Regions from separate parts of the Homo sapiens genome. Here region 2 is linked to region 1. Evidence: promoter capture Hi-C in human tissues and cell types (Jung and others, 2019). All regions are on one chromosome and are shown on one strand. Each heading gives the region's core, a stretch centred on a gene start or on the middle of the fragment in contact. The rest is flanking DNA. Distances are from core to core; before and after follow the strand shown. Region 1 holds the start of NEURL2 (neuralized E3 ubiquitin protein ligase 2). Region 2 overlaps LOC107987282 (a long non-coding RNA gene).

Region 1 (5,161 bases), core at 2,662-5,161:
ACACTCCCAGTCCCCAACACGGAGTAGGTGATGGAGAAGCGTTTGTTGAATTAATGAATAGTGAGCAAGCGGGTAGTTATTGATTGGCAAGGATGTTTGGAATGGCTTTTCTTCTAAAAGAATTGATTCTAGGGCCAGCCCCCAAATGCCCAGCAGAACCGCCACCTCCCCAGAGCCAGAAAGCAACTTCTCAGGGGAAGCTGCCGCACTCCCTCCAATTGCAGGTGCCCCCCGCTCACCTTGGCCGGAAGGCAGAGGACCTGGATGAGTTTGTGGAGTCCTGAAGTAGGACATGGCTTCCCCAAAGCCCCGGTTTGTGAGGGAATAGTGATCTGCCGCCTGTCCTCCCTTCTTCACCCTTCTAGAATGTCACCTCATAGACCCTCCCCTTCACACTTGGAATCCACTTTACAGCGTTGACCTATTCATTCTAGAACCTGGACATGACAATAGGATGAGGTTAAAAGAGCACCAGACCAGGAGCTGGGTGTTCTAGGTTCTTGCCCTAACCTTGAACGAGTCACCCAGATAGTTTTGTTCCTTGATATCCTTATCTGTAAAGTGTGTCTGATGACTGCCCACTACCTCATTAGGAGTTTTGAGGATGAAATGAGATCATTTGTATGGAAGCAGATGACCAGAGATGGAAACACAGGAGCCAAGTGCTTCGTGCCTTGTAGAGTAAGACTTCGGGTCAGACCCAGTATTGGTATTTTTCTTTTTCTTTTTTTGAGACAGAGTCTCACTTTGTCGCCATGACTGGAAGGCTGGAGTGCAGGAGCAAGACCTCAGCTCACTGCAACCTCTGCCTCCTGGGTTCATGCAATTCTCCTGCCTCAGCCTCCCGAGTAGCTGGGACTACAGGAACCTGCCACCACACCTGGCTAACTTTTGTATTTTTAGTAGAGACAGGGTTTCACCATGTTGGCCAGGCTGGTCTCAAACTCCTGACCTCAAGTGATCTGCCCACCTCGGCCTCCCAAAGTGCTGGGATTACAGGCCAGGTATTGGTATTTTTCAAAATTCCTCAAGTGATTATAATATATGACAAAGTTGGAACCTTTTTTCTAGGGACATACTTCTCAACCCTGGCTGTACATGAGAATCTCTTGAGAAGCTTTTACAAAACACAATGTCTAGGCCTAATTTCCCAACAAATCAAATACGAATCCCTAGGGATGGGATGTGGGACACCAGCACTCTTTACATATCCTAAGATGACTCTAACAAGCAGCCAGCCTAGGGACCCCTGCTCTTTTGCTCCGACCTGCTGACCTGCAGTGATTCTAAACGAAGTGACTCTCATAGGCTGTAGGGGCAAGGAGACCTTCCAGTGATCAAGATGTCAGCATCGGCTGTTTATTTCTGGTCTTGGCTGGCAGCAATGTGGCCAACTTCGGACCAGCCAGCCACAGGTCTGGGGCTCCAGGATGCAGCTGTGCTCTGGTGCACTGTGGGTCTTCACTCATACTTGCAGAAATCCTTAAGTTCTTTGGGCAGGTGGAGCCCATCAATGGCCAGCCGGTGCACCATGCTCCTTTGTATCACTAGGCGGCACAGAGTCTGCAGGGATGGCACTGTGGGAAGAAGACTGTGAAAGGCAAACTGAACTGGAGGGTGGGTCTGAGGCCAAGATCCAGAAGGTCTAGGTCATGGTCCCCACTTTGTCATTAAATGTGGGCAAGTCCTTACTGCTCTCTGGGCCCAGCCTGCTTCATGGGGCTGAGAGAAGCACCTCTTCCTGAGAGCTGCCACAAAGCTGCAGCCCTGTTTATATCATAACACTTAGCACAATCCCTTCCCCATTCACTTAGCAGCTTCTGGGGGCAGGGGTAGTGTCTGATTTGCCTGTGCAACTGAAGCCTCCAGCACAGGCCTGGCACAAAGAGGGTTCTGGTGCATTGAGTTCATGAAATGTGATGAGAGGTATAACTGCAATGCTTACCAGGGCTATAATGAATCATACTCAGCATTAAGAAGCTCTCAGTCTGGGGTTTGTTATGCCTCGAAGCCAATAGCCAATATGCCCAAGTCTATGAGCATGTTTCTTTCTTTTCTTTCTTTTTTTTTTTTTATTTAAAGAGAGAGGGTCTTGCTCTGTCACCCAGGCTGAAGTGCAGTGCTCAGTGAACTGCAGCCTTCAATTCTTGGGCTCAAGCGATCCTCCTGCCTTAGCCTCCCAAATAGCTGGGACTACAGGCATGCACCACCATGCCCAGATAATTATTTAATTTTTTGTACAGATGGGGTCTCACTTTGTTGCCCAGGCTTGAGCTAGCTAGCTTGCTTGCTTGCTTGCTTTCTCTCTCTTCCTCTCTCTCTCTCTTTCTTTTTTTTTTCAGAGTCTTGCTCTGTTGCCTAGGCTGGAGTGCACTGGTGAGATCTCGGCTCATTGCAACCTCCACCTCTCGGGTTCAAGTGACTCTCCTGCCTCAGCCTTCTGAATAGCTGGGATTATTGGCACATGCCACCACACCCAGCTACTTTTTGTATTTTTAGTAGAGACAGGCTTTCACCATGTTGGCCAGGCTGGTCTCGAACTCCTGGCCTCAAGTGATCTGCCTGCCTCCCCCTCCCAAAGTGCTGGGATTACAGGTGTGAGCCACTGTGCCCGGCCAAGCATGTTTCTAAGAAAAGGGCAAACAATTCTCAAAGAGGCCCCTAATATCTAAAATTGGTTTAGAATCCCTGCCCTAGGTGAATACAGGAAACACTATCAAAACTAAAAGGGAACTTGTAGGGCATCTTAATCAATCAACCAAGATAGGTACCAAGGCCCAAAACCATGTAGAGGCTTGTGCAAGATCACAAGCAGAGGTGCAATTTGAAGCTAGATTCTCCCACTCTTAAACTAGTGCCGGACAGACGAAGGCCTAGCACATGGGCTACGGAGCCCTAGTAGATTCCAGTCCCCACACTGAGCCAGGAGGGGTCGCTGCCCAGGGATACCTACAGCCATACTCGAGCTGGACAAGGCGCACGCTCTTTGTGGAAGCAAACACGTCCACCACCGCGTAGAGGGGCTGCGCAGCTGGCAGTCCCCGGGCGCTCGGGCCCATGTCCTCGCCGTTGATGATGATGTGCATGTCGGCCGTGCCATCGGGGCGCGGGCAAAAGAGGACACCCAGGCGGCTACGGCGCGCGGTCGGAGGCAGCACGTTCAGCTCATAGAGCTGGTCCAAGAGATGGCTGTAGAGCCCTGGCCGGCTGCGGCCCACCAGGCGGTCCCGGGGAATGCGAAACTGCTCAATGCGCAGATATGGTTCCACGAGGAGGGTTGGAGGTCGGCTGGGGGCCGCTGCCTCCGCCTCCGGGCGGCCCTCCCGGGGCACGCGGTTGTGGTGGCGCGTGATGGCGAAGACCCAGGTGTGGCCCAGGTTGACCAGATCGGGCAGAGAAAACTCGGGAACGGGGGCCAGACTGGCGGGGTCCAGCGCGGTCAGACCGAGACGCAGATGTCCGCACCAGCCCAGCTCTTTCTCCTCGATCTCGACCAGGAAGACCTGGCCCGGGGCCAGCGGCTCGCGGCTGAAGCACACGCCGTGGGCGAAGCTCTCCACGCGTGTGGCCCGCGTCCCAGAGGGGTCCACGCGGATGTTGGCACCGTGCACCCGATGGAAGCGGGTGGGAGGGGGCTCCGGGCGCTCGAGTCCCCAGAGTGCACCCGAATCCACGGGCTCGGAGGCAGCAGCCATCTCTCGGCCATAGGGCAGGCCAGCTGGCGCCGGGGGCTATTTTGGGCGGCGGGCAATGATGGTGACCGCAAGGCGACCTTGTAAGGCATTTCCCCCCTGACTCCCTTCCCCGAGCCTCTGCCCGGGGGTCCTAGCGCCGCTTTCTCAGCCATCCCGCCTACAACTTAGCCGTCCACAACAGGATCATCTGATCGCGTGCGCCCGGGCTACGATCTGCGAGGCCCGCGGACCTTGACCCGGCATTGACCGCCACCGCCCCCCAGGTCCGTAGGGACCAAAGAAGGGGCGGGAGGAAGACTGTCACGTGGCGCCGGAGTTCACGTGACTCGTACACATGACTTCCAGTCCCCGGGCGCCTCCTGGAGAGCAAGGACGCGGGGGAGCAGAGGTGAGCTGGCACCGGAGGCTGGAGGGGATCCCCGAGCCCGGGATCGGTGCGCGGCAGAGGAGGCTCGCGGGTGGGAGCTGGCGCTGGGGCCGGGGCTTCCCTCGCGGAGGCGCCGCCAGCAACTCCCCGGGGGCTGCTGCACGGAAGCGCTGAGGAGCGAGTCAACAGCCCCTCTGCTGCCTCCCGTAGATGATCCGAGCCGCGCCGCCGCCGCTGTTCCTGCTGCTGCTGCTGCTGCTGCTGCTAGTGTCCTGGGCGTCCCGAGGCGAGGCAGCCCCCGACCAGGACGAGATCCAGCGCCTCCCCGGGCTGGCCAAGCAGCCGTCTTTCCGCCAGTACTCCGGCTACCTCAAAGGCTCCGGCTCCAAGCACCTCCACTACTGGTCTGCCGCCCTGCCTTCTGGGCGGGATTGGGAGAAGAGATGACGGATGAGGGATGGGGGGTAGTTCTGCAGACCCCTGAGGATGCCTGGGAGCCGGGAGGGCTGGAAAGGGCCCCTCCAACTGCGCCAACCCTGCCCTGACCCCCCTCCCAGGTTTGTGGAGTCCCAGAAGGATCCCGAGAACAGCCCTGTGGTGCTTTGGCTCAATGGGGGTCCCGGCTGCAGCTCACTAGATGGGCTCCTCACAGAGCATGGCCCCTTCCTGGTGAGTGGACAGCAGGGGGAAAGCACAGTTCCCAAAGTAAAAGGCTGGGGAAAGCGAGAGAGGGGCTTTGTGATTTTCCAAAAAGTTTCCTTCCTTCTAAGCCTCGGGATTTTCCTCTATGCCATTGGCTTTGCTGCCTGTACCTCTCAGAGGTTTTACCCACATGTAAAGTGCCTCTCATGGTGGCCCTTTCCCTCCACCCAGCTGGCCCTTGGGACTTACTCAGCCATCTCTTTCCTCCTCAGGTCCAGCCAGATGGTGTCACCCTGGAGTACAACCCCTATTCTTGGAATCTGGTATAGCTGGAGCTGTGGGTGTGTCTGGGCACTTGGATGGGGTGGCATTTAGCTAATTTTTCCCTCCCCTCTAGATTGCCAATGTGTTATACCTGGAGTCCCCAGCTGGGGTGGGCTTCTCCTACTCCGATGAC
Region 2 (5,161 bases), core at 681-3,180, 400 kb before region 1:
CCTATCTCATCCTGTGACTAAGAATGCCTAACCCTCTGGGAATGTAGCCAAGCAGGTCTCACCCTTATTTTATCCAGCCCCTATTCAAGATGGAGTCACTCTGGTTGGAAGGCCTCTGACACAATGATTTCTTACTTTAATCCTGGGGTGTATGCTTATCCTTTGGGGTGAGGGAGAAGGAGAATAAGGGAGTAATGTCAGTGACTCTGGCCCCCCAGGAACAGCCTTCATGTCCTTCCCTTCTCTACCCACCGTGGAACATGAGAGATCTGGAAAGTTTCAGTGACATTGTCTGGAATATCTGGCCAGCCTGGCTTGGTGTCTATCAGGCTTTATCTTCCTCATCTTCTTGTGGGACCAGGGACCAGGGACCAGACAAGGCCCCAGGGCATCTCCATTCACTCCCAGGGGCACAAACTGATAGAGCCTCCTGGTGGGAGTGGGGATGCTTTGTGCATATGATAGCCCCTTGGCCAGAGATGGCAGTGTAGATTTTCCCAGCTCCCCACTTTCTGATTTCTATTTTTGTCCATGCTCGGGGCTCCCCAACCTTTTAGGCAGAAACAGAGGCATCCAGTGATGGGTTGGGAAGAGTTGCTGGGAACTCGGTGTGTGACTACCACTAGCTCCACTTTCTCCTGTCCTTCTACAGGTTTGCATTCTGAAAGAGTGGCCCAGGCAGGGTGATGTCTAACCCAGGGATGGCAAAGGTGTCCACATGCCATCATTTCTTCCACCAGCACCCATATCACATGATTGCTGCTCCTTTCCATTAGCCCATGTGTGGCCACAGAGCCCTCAGCACAGGGCTCCAGGCAGCTGCTACAGCTGCCCATTGATTGGGGTTGATAGATAGATTTGCTACCCCTGATTTAACTCAAGAAATAAAATGCTAATGGTGAAAAGTCAGACCTGGCAGTTGAGGTTTTACTGAGTAAGAAGACTGCACAGGGGACCCTGAGCAGGGGTCCAAAGGAGATGGGACCTCAGGCCCTCCACCAGAAGCTTAAGAGGGGGTAAAGCTTTTTCAAGGGGTCCCTAGCCCAGAGGCCTCCTGCAGAAGATGAGGTGGAAGTTGCCAGGGATCTCAGTAATGCACAGGAAGAAGCTACCAGGGAAGGAGGACTGAGAGGTGGGATGGGGCAGGTAAGAAAGCAGGGGTGGGTTAGACGAGGCAGAACCTCTGGCTGAGACCCTTCCTTTAATTTTCTTTTTTAAGCTGCTTGGTCAATAAGTTTATTGTTTTTATCTGAATAATCTTATAGAAAATGACTATTTGCCAGACGTGGTGGAACGTGCCTATATTCCTAAGTACTTGGAAGGCCAAGTGGGGGAGGATTGCTTGAGCCCAGGAGTTGGAGGCTACAGTGAGCTATGATTGTGCCACTGCACTCTGACTTGGGTGACAGAGCGAGACTCTGTCTCTGAAAAAAAAAAAGAAAAAGGAAAAAGAAAAGACAAGAAAATAGTTGTTTGGCTTAGCGCTCAGCAGCCTGCTCCTGAGCTCTTAGAAAACTTGCCTTCTGAGCTACTCAGTCTTTCTTCTGGACAGGGGACGTCTTGGGATGGTTCCACCTTTTCTTAACTTCTTCCCCAGGCTTCCTCTCGTGAACTGGATTCTCTTGTTCAGCATCATGAGCTTTCTTACATGTCTCTCCGTCATGACTGGAGTTATGTTGTTCTTTATGTATTGAGAAAATTGTTTCTTGTAAACATCTTCATCTTCTTACATTGGGTAATGCATATAATCTGCGATCTTCTGACCCAGGATGTGCTTCTGCATTGAACTCCCTGCTTTCTGAATTGGAACCAGGGAATTGTTTGGTAACTGTGAGGGATAGAAAACCTCAATCCACACCTCCCTTCAGGGCCCCCCTACCTTTATTTCCGTTGGTAGTTCTGGCAAGTAGCAAGTGAAGGCACCAAGTAACCATCAATGCTTCCCATGTGATACCCATCTCTGCTCACCTCCACTTGACCTTCATAGGTGTTGTCCATGCCAAGACTATTGAGGGGCCTTCGGGTCAGCACAGGCCAGTACAATGTGCTGCATCATAATCTGGCTGGCCAACCTTCATGCTACACTTTAGACATTCATGAACATATGCTGTGCAGACAATCATATTCCCTTCTGTGTGGGCAAAAACCATATGACAAATGATCTCTCTGTTAGTTGCATGAACTATCCTGAATTTTGGTGTGTTCTACTTATTTTCATCCTGGATTACCAAGTGTGTCTGAGCATAGTAATCAGTTTAACCCACTGGTCTTCTAAATGTCATCTGTATCTCTTAAAGTAGGCCTTACTCTTAACAATTTTAACACACTCCATCCTCCGGAACAGAGAGCTGTGTCCATGGCTTGACACAGACCTGCAGCGTGCAAGGGGGGCCAGGCAAGGCGGAAGCCCTACGATCATTCTTTGATCAACTTTTGCAGCCAAGTGAATGCTGTAGGTTGGGGACTCTGAAGATTTGTGATTGGAAAGGGGGAAGGAAAAAGGACAGGGTCCCAGACTGGTCTCTTCCCCCTCTTCCAGGCCTTGATGGGCCACACTTGATATAGGCAGACCACAGCAAAGCTTAGTTTTGGCCAGGAGAACAGCTCCCAGGGCCCAGGAATCCCAGTAAACAGGTGGATCGAGATGGGACAGCCAACCTCAAGGCCCCTCACAGAACCACTCAGCCCAGCTGCCCCTCCAGACGTCAGGGCAGGGCTTCTTCCCGCACTTATTTTCTCCCATTTCCGATGGCAAACTGCTTTGCAGATGCCTCTAAAGGCCATCCCCAGCCCAGGAAGCCATGTATGGTAATACCTACATGGAAACAGACATCTTCTCTGCAGGAAAGTGCAGGTTTGGGGTTGGAGCGATAGTAAGAAGTTACATGAGTGAGCTGGAGCTTAGAAAATAAAGTTCTAAAGACAGACCAGTCAGGGAGGGGAAGGTCCTGCCCCAGAAACAACATCAGCAGAGGCATTCACTCATTCAATATTTATAAAGCACTTACTATGTGTTCTATTCTAGGTGGTGGGGATTTGATAGAAGGAAAAGAGTGTGTGTGTGTGTGTGTGTGTGTGTGTGTGTGCGGTGGAGAGGATAGCCAATAAATAAATGAACTAACACATATATAACATGTTAGGTGGAGGAAAAGTTATGGAGAAATACACAGGTAAGAGGAATAGTGAGTCTGGGGGTGGGGTAGAGATGGGGGTGATTACTTTGCAAAGTAGTCAGGGAAGGTCTTAAAGTATTATTCAAGTAGTGAACTCAGTGAAGGAGGACATGAGCTGCGTGACAACCCATGAGAAGAGGAATTTAGAGAGAAGAGAGTTCCAGAACAAAGGACCTGAGGTCAGAGTGTTCTCAGGGTGTTGGGGATCATCCAGGAGGCTGGCATGGCTGGGGTGAATGAGTGGTCAGGAGCCTGAGGTGAGTTGAAGTCAGAGAGGTAGCATGGGCACAGAGAATAAGGGCCTTGTGGCTCATTGCAAGGATTTTGCCTTTTATTTGGAGCAAATTTGGGAGCCACTGGAGGAGTTTGAGCAGAAGAGTGACATATGACTTCAGTTGGAAAAGGATCCTTCTGGCTGCTGTGTTGTGAATACTACAGGGGAGATGCAGAACCAGGGAGGGCAGGTAGGTCACTGCAACAGGGCAGGCAAAAGCTGGCTTAAAAAAATGCTTCAGGCTGGGCATGGGGGCTCACACCTGTAATCCCAGCACTTTGGGAGGCCAAGGCTGGCAGATCACGAGGTCAGGAGCTCGAGACCAGCCTGGCCAACATGGTGAAACCCCGTCTCTACTAAAATACAAAAAAATTAGCTGGGTGTGGTGGTGCGTGCCTGTAATCCCAGCTACCTGGGAGGCTGAGGCAGGAGAATTGCTTGAACCCGGGAGGCAGAGGTTGCAGTGAGCCAAGATGGCGCCACTGCACTCCAGCCTGGGGGACAGAGCGAGACTCCGTCTCAAAAAACAAACAACAAAAAACTCTTCATCCAGTGGTATGAGGCCCCCCACACTGTCAGGTAGAAATCTTGGCTTCCTTAAACAAACCTTTATTGTTTCCCTTATTGGAAGTATTCCTTCCTTGGTTTCTAAAACACCGCAGAGCCCTGAGACACAACATTTAACATAATCATAGTAATGCTGAATTACAAGCCAACTCAAAATTCAGTGACTTAAGGCAACAATCATTCGCTCTCACTCCCATATCTGTGGGTCTGCTGGGGTTCAGCTGATCTAGGCTGGGCTCAGCTGGTTCTTCTTGAACCAGCAGGTTCCATAAAATGTATTCCCTGGGTCACCTGAGGTCAGGAGTTCCAGACCAGCCTGGCCAACATGGTGAAACCCTGTCTTTACTAAAAATATGAAAAAAATTAGCCAAGAATGGTGGCGGACGCCTGTAATCCCAGTTACTCAGGAGGCTGAGGGAGGAGAATCACTTGAACCCAGGAGGCGGAAATTGCAGTGAGTGGAGATCAAGCCATTGCACTCCAGCCTGGGTGACAAGAGTGAAACTCGGTCTCAGGCTGGGCGCAGTAGCTCACGCCTATAATCTCAGCACTTTGGGAGGCCGAGGCAGGTGGGTCACGAGGTCAGAAGTTCGAGACCAGCCTGGCCAAGATGGTGAAACCCCATCTGTACTAAAAACACAAAAATTAGCCGGGCGCGGTGGTGGGCACCTGTAATCCCAGCTACTCGGGAGGCTGAGGCAGGAGAATTACTTGAACCCAGGAGGTAGAGGTTGCAGTGAGCCGAGATCACGCCACTGCACTCTAGCCTGGGTGACAGAGCAAGACTCTGTCTCAAAAAAAAAAAAAAAAAAAAAAAAAAGCAAAACTTGGTCTCAAAACAAAACAAAAACACATTCTCGTAGGATTGGTAGAAGGATAAGCACAGATTCCAAGTCTGTGCTTTCATCATGTCTGTTAGCATCATTAGCCAAAATAAGTCACATACCAACCCCGAAGTTAAGGGGCAGAGAAATATACTCTGCCTCTAGTGGAAGAAACTGCAGACTCTTTGATTGTGGATATAGGGAGGGTGATGAATTGGAGCCAGTAACTCAATCTACCACAGTTATTATGTTTAATAACAAGATATGCTTTGGTTGCTCTGATCCATTTATTCTGGCTGTGGGAAAAAAAGCACCATATGCTG

What was found. Contacts are between HindIII fragments. The study calls those that stand out against the background at their distance.
Region 2: a contact is called between a fragment that was not itself captured here and the fragment with the promoter of NEURL2 in region 1, in 2 of the 25 tissues and cell types used here (mesendoderm cells and thymus).

Annotation. Positions count from the first base shown.
Region 1 is chr20:45,887,297-45,892,457 of GRCh38, forward strand. It overlaps NEURL2 (neuralized E3 ubiquitin protein ligase 2), which reads right to left and starts at 3,912. Exons shown (of 2, transcript NM_080749.4): 1 at 2,954-3,912; 2 at 1,338-1,577. The coding sequence starts at 3,695. The coding sequence ends at 1,462. CTSA (cathepsin A) reads left to right here and starts at 4,039. Exons shown (of 15, transcript NM_000308.4): 1 at 4,039-4,083; 2 at 4,273-4,466; 3 at 4,620-4,731; 4 at 4,977-5,027; 5 at 5,102-5,161. The coding sequence starts at 4,273. SPATA25 (spermatogenesis associated 25) reads right to left here and starts at 326. Exons shown (of 2, transcript NM_080608.4): 1 at 240-326. The coding sequence starts at 294. RefSeq lists enhancers at 1-38, 3,377-4,086, 4,326-4,375 and a silencer at 4,016-4,285. The HindIII fragment of the contact is 2,972 bases long and covers 3,255-5,161 here.
Region 2 is chr20:45,489,340-45,494,500 of GRCh38, forward strand. The region is part of intron 1 of LOC107987282 (a long non-coding RNA gene); the gene reads left to right. It also overlaps the pseudogene RPL5P2. Among named protein-coding and RNA genes, the nearest start is that of WFDC2, 22 kb to the left of the region's middle. The HindIII fragment of the contact is 6,084 bases long and covers 1-4,972 here.